Regions from separate parts of the Homo sapiens genome. Here region 1 is linked to region 2. The links are contacts of gene promoters, found by promoter capture Hi-C in blood cells and fetal thymus (Javierre and others, 2016). All regions are on one chromosome and are shown on one strand. The core of a region is centred on a gene start or on the middle of the fragment in contact, and the rest is flanking DNA. Distances in the headings are between cores, read along the strand shown.

Region 1 (4,549 bases), core at 1,339-3,838, 610 kb after region 2:
TGTCACCAAACCCAAGCTGACACCCTGGCTCTGGGCAGAGGCTGGCGGGTGTGGGTGGAGGAGGGAAGGTTGTTAGGAAGGCTCTGCCAGGCGGAGGGAGGGGGTTGGCTTCTGCAAAATGGGCCTCTTTCCCGCCTGGTGGGCTTTGCTCACTCTTGCCTCCTCGCTGCTTCTCTCTCCTCATGGACACGCCCAGTTTCCTCCGATTGCACAAAGCCTCTTTGATGAATGATGCCACAAAGAGGCTGCTTCAGGGGACCCAGGGTTTGGCCCACTCTTTGGGCCTTCCCACCCAATCTGTGAAATGGCCAATTGTGAGTATATGAATATACTCAGCTCTGACAGGGAACCTTTCAGAGGAGCACCATGGTTAAGGAGCTCCCAAATGAGGGCATGGGCCCATAGCAGCCCAGGTGGCCCCATTCCTACCCTGAGTGGAGGGGTAGGGACCCTTAATTTCTGTAACACAAGTCAGAGACACTCAAAGCAGGAAGAAGTCTGGTCAACCATATGTTTCAGGTGCCTTGAAAGTCTCAATATTTGTTGAATGGGCGAATGAATAAAGTTCAGCTTAAGACTTTTTTTTTTTTTTGAGACAGAGTCTCACTCTGTCACCCAGACTGGAGTGCAGTGGCGCGATCTCGGCTCGCTGCAACCTCCACCTCCTGGGTTTAAGCGATTCTCCTGCCTCAACCTCCAGAGTAGCTGGGACTATAGGCACACGCCACCATGCCCTGCTAATTTTTGTATTTTTGGTAGAGACGGGGGTTTCACCATGTTGGCCAGGCTGGTCTCGAACTCCTGACCTCAGGTGATCCACCTGCCTCAGCCTCCCAAAGTGCTGGGATTACAGGTGTGAGCCACCATGCCTGGCCAAGACTATTTTAAAGAAAGATGCCACTGCTGAACAGTAAAATCAAAGACCTCATTTAACAGCCCTCATCTGACAGAAGAGAAACATGCCCGGTGAAGGGCCCTTCTTGCTGACATTTCCAAGTAACACAAGGGACCAGGCAGGCGTCCCAAGCCCAGGTGTCTGATGGCTGCTCTTCTGCTGAGTGAGAGTCCCCCAGGACCCCGCTCCAGGGCCTGGGCTCACTACTCCATAAGCAGCCCCACTGCTTGCCGGCAGATCTGCAGCTTCCGCAGACACTTCCAGCTTTCAGTTCCTTGAACATTCCTGTCATTCCTTGGGCAAACCCACTCTACTCCACATTTCTTTGAACTTCCCCGACTTCCCTGACCCTCTGCGACTAGCTGTGTGACCCTGGGCAAGTTGCTCAACTTCTGCAAGCTTGAGCCTCCACATCATGAAAGCGAGAGAAGCATTACTGACCCCGAAGGGCTGCTGTGAGGCCCACAGCTCCAGCTGAGAAAGTGCATGATAAAGTCAACATGATGGGACCTTCACTCTGTGCCAGACATGTGCAAGACAGGGTTATGTCCTGCACAAAGCAGTGTAGGGGTTAAGCACAGATTAGATTCACAGGTGGGGCCAACCTGAGTTAGAATTCTAGCCCTACCACTGACTCACTGTGTAAACCTGGGCGAGTCCCCTTAGCCTTTCTAGGACTCTCTTTTCTTGTCTGTAAAATGGAGACAATAATACCTACTGTTGCTTAAAGGATGAAAAGGGAACCCCATAAACGAAGTGCCCTGCCCAATGCCCAGCATACAGCAGGTGCTCAGTGAAGGGCCACCTCCACGCACCTCCTTCTCCATGAAGTCCCCAGCAGGCTGGTCCTGCAGGTCCCCCAGTGATCTAGAGTCCCAAGTGTGAGCACTGGCCCCTGCTGCTTTGTAAGTCCTCTGCCCAAAGCTGTGGAGTCCTACTTGGGTCTAACTGGGAACACCAAAGTAAAGAGGAATGAGGGGGCCCCAGGATGGAGAGTTTGGAGTGGGGCTGCTGTGTAGGATGGCAGCCAGCAGGCCTGGCCCTGAACCCCAGGGCCACCACCTTTTTAAATCAGATCCTTCCCTCCAAGCAAGCAAACAATCTGGCTCTGGCGGAGGCCCTGGTCAAGCACAGCAGAACCTTTGTGAGCTCTTGACTCTCCCCCTGCCTCCCCACTTCATCCTTGTCATCGCCTGCAGGGAGCTCTGGGGGTGGTGCTTTGGGCAGGGGAGCAGCTGGTAGGCTGCTGGCTTAGCCTGATGTTAAAGGCCTGAGGGGCTGGTCTCACCCTCTAGCCACATCTCCCTCCAGCCCCCTCCTCCCCTCCCAGGCTGCCGCTTGGTCTTTGCAGGCATAGTTGTCTCTCCCTTTGATACTCTGGAGAGGTAGAACTGAAGTGGAGGCTAGGGCTGTGGAAGGGCAGGGAGAGGTCTTCGTTGCAAGAGAGGCCAGACTTGTCCTCACGCCCTTTGCTGTTCCTGGTGCGGAGCAATGCTTCACCTCCGCCCTGGCCAATTCTAAACCCTCAGACCCTAGTTTAAGTCTGTTGGCAGGGTAGCTGCAGCCCTGAGAGGTACTTTGCTCCTCCATACAAAGAGGTGAAACTCTCTAGACCCTCACAGGGCAGCTTTCTGTGCACCTCAGAGACTTGACGAGACTCCTGGGACTCCTGTCCTTGCCTTTCATGTGTGGCCATACCAGGTGCTTCATCACCACTCAGTAGAGCTTAGGCTCCAAGAACCTGCACTCTGAAACCTCTGTCTCTCCAAGATCTAACCTTGTACGAGTTATTGCTCAGAATCCTCCCGCTGCAGCCCGGACCCCTGGGTAGTCCCTCTTCATTCTTCAGGTCCAGCTGGGGAGGTGTCCCTGTAACACCTGCGCTTAGTACTGCCCTGCTTACCCATCACTGCCATGATGGCAGAGCCTCCGCCCGCCTCACTCACCGCTGGACCCCAGTGCCTGGGACAGGGCTGGGAACAAGGTAGGGGATCCAGAAACAAGTATTGTCTGCCTGGCCAAGGTCCCCCATCCCCTTCACTGTCAGCACCTGGACCCACCTTCCCTTCACTGACAAGGTGAGCATTATTACATGAAAAAAAAAAAAAAAAAAAGTCAGTCAAGTAACAAATGGAGAAAACATTTGGATGCAAGACACAAAATGCTAATTCCCCCTTGTTTTTGTAAAGCAATAAGAAAAATACTTTTGCTCATATTTTTTGTTTTTTTTGGAGACAGGGTCTCACTCTGTTGCTCAGGCTGGAGTGCAGTGGCATGATCACAGTTCATTGCAGCTTCAACCTTCCAGGCTCAGGTGATCCTCCCACCTCAGCCTCCTGAGTAGCCAGGACTACAGGCACGCACCACCACACCTGGCTAATTTTTTTTTTTTTTTTTTTTTGAGACAGAGTCTGTCGCCCAGGCTGGAGTGCAGTGTTGCGATCTCGGCTCACTGCAAGCTCCGCCTCCTGGGTTCACACCATTCTCCTGCCTCAGCCTCCCAAGTAGCTGGGACTACAGGCTCCCGCCACCATGCCCCGCTAATTTTTTGTATTTTTAGCAGAGACGGGGTTTCACCGTGTTAGCCAGGATGGTCTCGATCTCCTGGCCTTGTGATCCACCCACCTCAGCCTCCCAAAGTGCTGAGATTACAGGTGTGAGCCACCGCACCCAGCCATGCCTGGCTAATTTTTAAACTTTTTGTAGAGATAGGATCTCGCTATGTTGCCCAGGCTTATCTCGAACTTCTGGGCTCAAGTGATCCACCCACCGTGGCCTCCCAAAGTGCTGGGTTTACAGGCGTGAGCCGCCACACCTGGCCCATATTCTTTATCAAATTGAAAAAAACATTTTACAGAAAAGAGGAAACACACACATGATATATATATATACACACACATATAAATATATGTATATAATTTTTTTTTTGAGACAGGGTCTCACTTTGTCACCCAGGCTGGAGTGCAGTGGAACAATCATGACTAATTGAAGCTTTGACTTTCCAGATTCAAGCAATCCTCCTGCCTCAGCCTCCCTAGTAGCTGGGACTACAGGCATGTGCTACCACACCGGGTAGTTATTTTATTTTATTTTATTTTATTTTTGAGATGGAGTTTCGCTCTTGTCACTCAGGCTAGAGTGCAGTGACACAATCTCGGCTCACTGAAACCTCCACCTCCTGGGTTCAAGCGATTCTCCTGCCTCAGCCTCCTGAGTTGCTGGGATTACAGGTGCCCGCCACTACATCTGGCTAATTTTTGTATTTTTAGTAGGGACGGAGTTTTGCCATGTTGGCCAGGCTGGTCTTGAACTCCTGACCTCAAGTGATCCTCCTGCCTCCGCCTCCCAGAATGCTGGGATTACAGGCGTGAGCCACCACACCCCGCCTGGGTAGTAGTTTTAGTAGAGATAGCAGTCTCACCATGTTACCCAGCTGGTCTTGAACTCCTGGGCTCAAATTATCCTCCTGTCTCAGCCTCCTAAATTGCTGGGATTACAAGTGTGAGCCACCACACATGGCCCAACACTTTTATGTGTTTAAAAAGATGCTTAGTTAACTTCACTTATAATAAAAGAAAAATTAACTAAAATCGGTGAAATGTGCTTTTTGAGCTATGTCTCTCAGATTGGCTTAGACCAAATGGGCTATTTATG
Region 2 (4,830 bases), core at 781-3,280:
GCTGTGTTGAAATTGTGGAGAGGAGAATGAGGATAGAAAGTAAACGGAGAGGCCAATAAGGAAGACAGAGCCAGTCTATAAAAGAGGCTGGCTGTGGAGGTAGACAGCAGCTGTTCAGTTCAAGAGACTGAAATCAACAAAACACTAGAACAAGAAGGTCATAGAAAATGATATCCAAATGGTCAGTAAGCATATTAAAATGTGCTTATATTTATTAGTTGTTAGGAAAATGCTATAACCACAATGAAGGACCACTACACACCCACCAAAATTCAGAACTCGGAATTCTTATATAAGGCTATGGGAGTGTAGATTTGTACAACCACTTTGGAAAACTCTATGGCTATCTACCATGAGACCCATCAATTCTATTTCCAGGCACATACCCAACAGAAATGTGTATAGATGTGTACTGAAAGACATGTACAGGAATGTTCGTAGCAGCAATATTCATAATAGCCAGAAACAGGTGACAGCCCAAATGCCTGTCAGCGTCCAAATGGACACTTTGTGGCATATTCACACAATGGAATGCTATACAGCAATGAAAACAAAGGCAATACAGGCACATATGATGTCTCAAAAGAGTATACACTAAATGATTCAGTTTTCATAAAGTTCAAGAACAGAGATGAGGATGGTGCTGAGCTACAGGGAGGAGAGCAGTGACTGGCAAGGCCAGAAGGGGTGCTAGGTAAGTTCTGTTTGTCGATCAGAGTGGTGATAACTTTCACTTTGTGAAAAGACATTTCTCTGTCCGCTTAGGATTTGTGCATTTTTCCGTATGTATGGTATACGTCAATTTGAAGTTGACATTTAAAAGGAGGGACTTAGAAGAACTGATAGGACATGGTGACTGGTAGAGGTGGATGGAGAAGAACAGAAGGGATCTAGTGTGACTCAGGTTTTGGCCTGAGCAACTGGGTAAATGGCATTACCCTTTACTGAGATGGGAAAGAGCAGAGGAGGAGTCAGTGGGGCAGAAGGGAGGTGGGGGAGGGAATCAAGTTCACCTTTAGACATGCTACGATGGAGGTGCCTATCAGGCATTCAAGTGAAGATGTCAAGGAGCCACCTAGAGATTCAAGTTTAGAGCCCCAGGGAGCAGAGCTGCAGATGCAGATTTGGAAGTCTTTGCTGTGTAAATACAATGCAAGGTGTGAGCCTGGATGAGATCTCAGAGAGCAGAAACTGGAGAGAAAAGAGAAGTCCCGAGGATGGAGTGGAGGAGGGGGACTCGAACAGCTGGCCTGGTGAAAGACGAGAGGCACAAAGGGAGCAGCCAGAGAGCTAGGAAGAAAACTGGGAGAGCATAGTGTCCAAAGGCCAAGTGGTTTCAAAGAAACGGGAATGATCAACCATATCTAATGCTGCCAATAGGTCAGGATGAGATCTGAGAATTGATTACTGGATTTAACATCATGGAGGTCACTAGGGAACTTGCCAAGGGCAGTTTTGTGGAAGGGTGATACCTGAAGTGTGGACCACCATTTGTGGTACCACAGATGGGAGGTGAGGACAGGAAGGCATGAAAGATAGCTCTTCCGAGAGTTTGCTGTGTGAGTGAGCAGAAAAATGGGGCAGGAGGTGGAGGACACAGTGTGGGTGGGGATTTTTAGGTGGGAGTTAGTACAGCATATGTGTGGAGGGGGAACAATGGACAGGACAAGGTTATCCTATCCATTGACCTTGGGGCCAGGTCATTGAATAGGTGGGAAGGGGGTGAGATTGCATATGCTTGGGGCTTCACCTGCCTAGTTATAGGAAGGACAAGATTTAAGCAATTGGGGAAAGGCAGCCATGCAGATAAGGCATTGCCTGAGAAAGTTGATAAAGGCTATACAACCCCTTCTCTTCCTCCTTCCTTAGCCAGGCTCCAGCAGGTAGATTCAAAGGTTTCTTGTAGGATAGAATTTCCTGCCTCAGCAGGGGCAAGGAGGCCTTGGGGCTGGGCTGGGCTGGGCTGGGTGTGGCACTCTCCCTGCCAGCTTCTACAACCTGGGGAGGGAACAAAAACCTGTGGGTGCCTCAGACCACAGCAGAGCTCACAGAACCTGCGGGAGCCAGGCTGACCCGCCAGCATGGTAGAGTTCGCGCCCTTGTTTATGCCGTGGGAGCGCAGGCTGCAGACACTTGCTGTCCTACAGTTTGTCTTCTCCTTCTTGGCACTGGGTAAGTTGGGCTGCACTGTAAGACGGGAGACCACCGCACTCAGGTGGGGCAGAGCAGCCACACCAGGTGCACACAGCACATTGATGGTGGCAAGACATTTATCCTAAAGGGGGCTTTGTTGCGCTCAGAGCCCCTGCCCAGAGAGAACTCCTGGGCCTGCCCAGAGGCTTCTTGGGGGTGGAGTGGGGTAGAAGTCACCGTCTGCTGCTCTGGGCAGGTTACTTACTCTTCCTGGCTTGCACTGTGGGTTCTCCTTTGGCACTTGGATGAAGACCAGTCTGCAGGCTGCCAAGTGGTGTGGGAAAGCCTCTGGGCGATGACGGGAAAGTTCTGGGCTCTGCAGCCTGCTCAGAGAGGAGAGATTTCCTTCTGTGCGCTCAGGGAGGAGGAAACTGGGGCTGGTAGTAGGGTAAGTGAGAGAAACAGGGAAAGAAAAGAAGGGTGGGGAGAAGGTGCAGACTGAGAGTGGACTGTGGAGTGGGCATGCTGGGTACCAGGAAACCCGGAGTCAGACTCAGCTGGGCAACTGACTTTAGCCAGCCCATGCCTGACCTCTCCAAGCCTCGACTTCACCATCTGCAGAACGGGGACAACAATGCTGGCCTTGCAGGGCTATTGTGAAGGAAATGAAGAAATGTGCTGACCTCTGCTTGGCACAGACCTGGCCTGGACCCTGGGCTGGGCTCACACTGGAGGGCATGAGCATGGCCCCTTACCCACCCCACCACTGATTTGTGGCCAGAGAGATCACCCTTGCCCAAACAATAGCTCTGCCAAAGGTAACATTTTCTAGGAGGGTCTGGATCTGTGGCTTGGGAAGGGAGAATGACTAGGAGTCCGTGGGGTTTTTCCTTTCATCTGCTGGCACCAGACAAGGTAGGAACTGCTGCTTCCAGGGCTGAGGTTCAGCCTGTACACAGATACCACTCTCCTGGTTGTTAAAATATTGACACACTCTGAACACATTGCTCAGTAGCCATCTCTCTTTCTCTCTCTCTCTCTCACACACACACACACACACACGTACTTCCTCAGAAACTCCCCCACAATTCTGTAGTGAAAAAACTCCCCCTTGGCAAAGCAGGCCCTCCAGGACCCTGCCCTAGCATCCCTTCTGGTTGAGCTGTGTCTCTGTTCTAAGGGTTTTTAGACATTTTACACATTCCTGTATACCCCCTTTGCACAGATGAGCCAAACAATCAAGGATTTGCCTCCAGTAAGGGCTGAGAAACCATCAGTCAGAGGGGAATTCCACACTAGGCCTGGTCTTAGCCCTGATGCACCCCTGATTATGGGGCGGCCAGGGGCTGGCCTCTTCCTCCCTCCCTCCTTTCAACAACAAACGTCACTGGTCACTGAAGGCAAAGGAATCAGAGCTCAGCAGGTTTGGGAACACTGTGTAGTTCAGAGTGGCCACAGACAAGAGGCAGGAGCGGGAGGGACAGGGCCAGCTCTGGGGCTCCTGGAGGCCAGGCTGAGCTACTTGGACTGTGCCCAAAGTTATGGGGAAGTCATGAAGGGCTTGAATAAGGGGAGGCACCTGGCTGGATTTATCTCTGGGAAAATGGGGCAGAGGATGAACAGAAAGAGAGCAGGAAAGGGTCTCCCTTTGCTCTGAGATCCCAAAAGATGGAAACTAGAACAGTTTATCCAACCAGTTGTCCCCATTGATTGAGCACTTAATGAGTACAAACAACTCTCCTGGGGAGAAGGAGGACAGGCAGGGGATGGAGTGAATTAGGCGGCCTGGTGCAGTGGGAGAAAGTGAGCTTTGGAGTTAGGCCTACCTAGGCTCAACGCGTGCTCCCAGTGACACTGGGCTGGCCGTAGTCCCTCTCAGGGACTTTGTCTCCTCTTTGAATGCCCCGGAAGCTGCTGTCTTCCTCCTGGGCCCGAGGATTGGACAGGACAGTGCTGCTAGTGCCAGGCCTATGGGCAGAGTTCAGTCTGAGCAATCTCACCTGCCTTCCTCTCAGACCCCTGTCCCTGACAGCTCCTTCTTCCCTCCCCAGCCGAGATCTGCACTGTGGGCTTCATAGCCCTCCTGTTTACAAGATTCTGGCTCCTCACTGTCCTGTATGCGGCCTGGTGGTATCTGGACCGAGACAAGCCACGGCAGGGGGGCCGGCACATCCAGGCCATCAGGTGCTGGACTATATGGAAGTACATGAAGGACTATTTCCCCATCTCGGTGAGTATTGAGGCTGGTTGGGGTTGGGGAGGGAGTTGGCTGGGGTGTGGTCAGGGCCAGAGTGCCGACGTCTCCATGGGAGAATATGGCCCTGCATGCACTGAGGAGGGTACTGGGCTGGGAGGCAGGAGCTAGGGCTTCCGCTACTATGTGACCTAGAGAAGAGTCCAGCTTCTCTCCGATCATGGTTTCGCATCTGCAGGGATGCGGGGCCAATATGTGGATTGATGGATGTCCAGCATTTGAAGGAGTTCTGTGGGTTATATGGTGTGAGGCATGCCTATGTATCTTAAAGGCACAAACCCATCAGCAGCCCAGGCTTGGGAGTGAAGGTAATAAACTTACAGGTTCTAAGGACCATCTAGCCTCACACTTAACATTCATCAGAAGAGGAGGCTGACACCCAGAGATGGAGGAAATGTCACCAAGGTCACACAGCAAGTTCTTTTACAGATTTCCAAGTGTGT

What was found. The method cuts DNA at HindIII sites, captures the fragments that hold promoters and counts their contacts. A CHiCAGO score of 5 or more calls a contact.
Region 1: a fragment that was not itself captured here is called in contact with the fragment with the promoter of MOGAT2 in region 2 in 3 of 17 cell types (endothelial precursors, naive B cells and total B cells); the score reaches 8.2 in endothelial precursors.

Annotation. Positions count from the first base shown.
Region 1 is chr11:76,328,045-76,332,593 of GRCh38, forward strand. No RefSeq gene overlaps it. Among named protein-coding and RNA genes, the nearest start is that of THAP12, 51 kb to the right of the region's middle. The HindIII fragment of the contact is 2,592 bases long and covers 1,293-3,884 here.
Region 2 is chr11:75,715,808-75,720,637 of GRCh38, forward strand. MOGAT2 (monoacylglycerol O-acyltransferase 2) reads left to right here and starts at 2,031. Exons shown (of 6, transcript NM_025098.4): 1 at 2,031-2,172; 2 at 4,185-4,363. The coding sequence starts at 2,082. It overlaps LOC105369392 (a long non-coding RNA gene), which reads right to left and starts at 2,478. Exons shown (of 3, transcript XR_950316.4): 1 at 2,399-2,478. The HindIII fragment of the contact is 5,505 bases long and covers 1-4,830 here.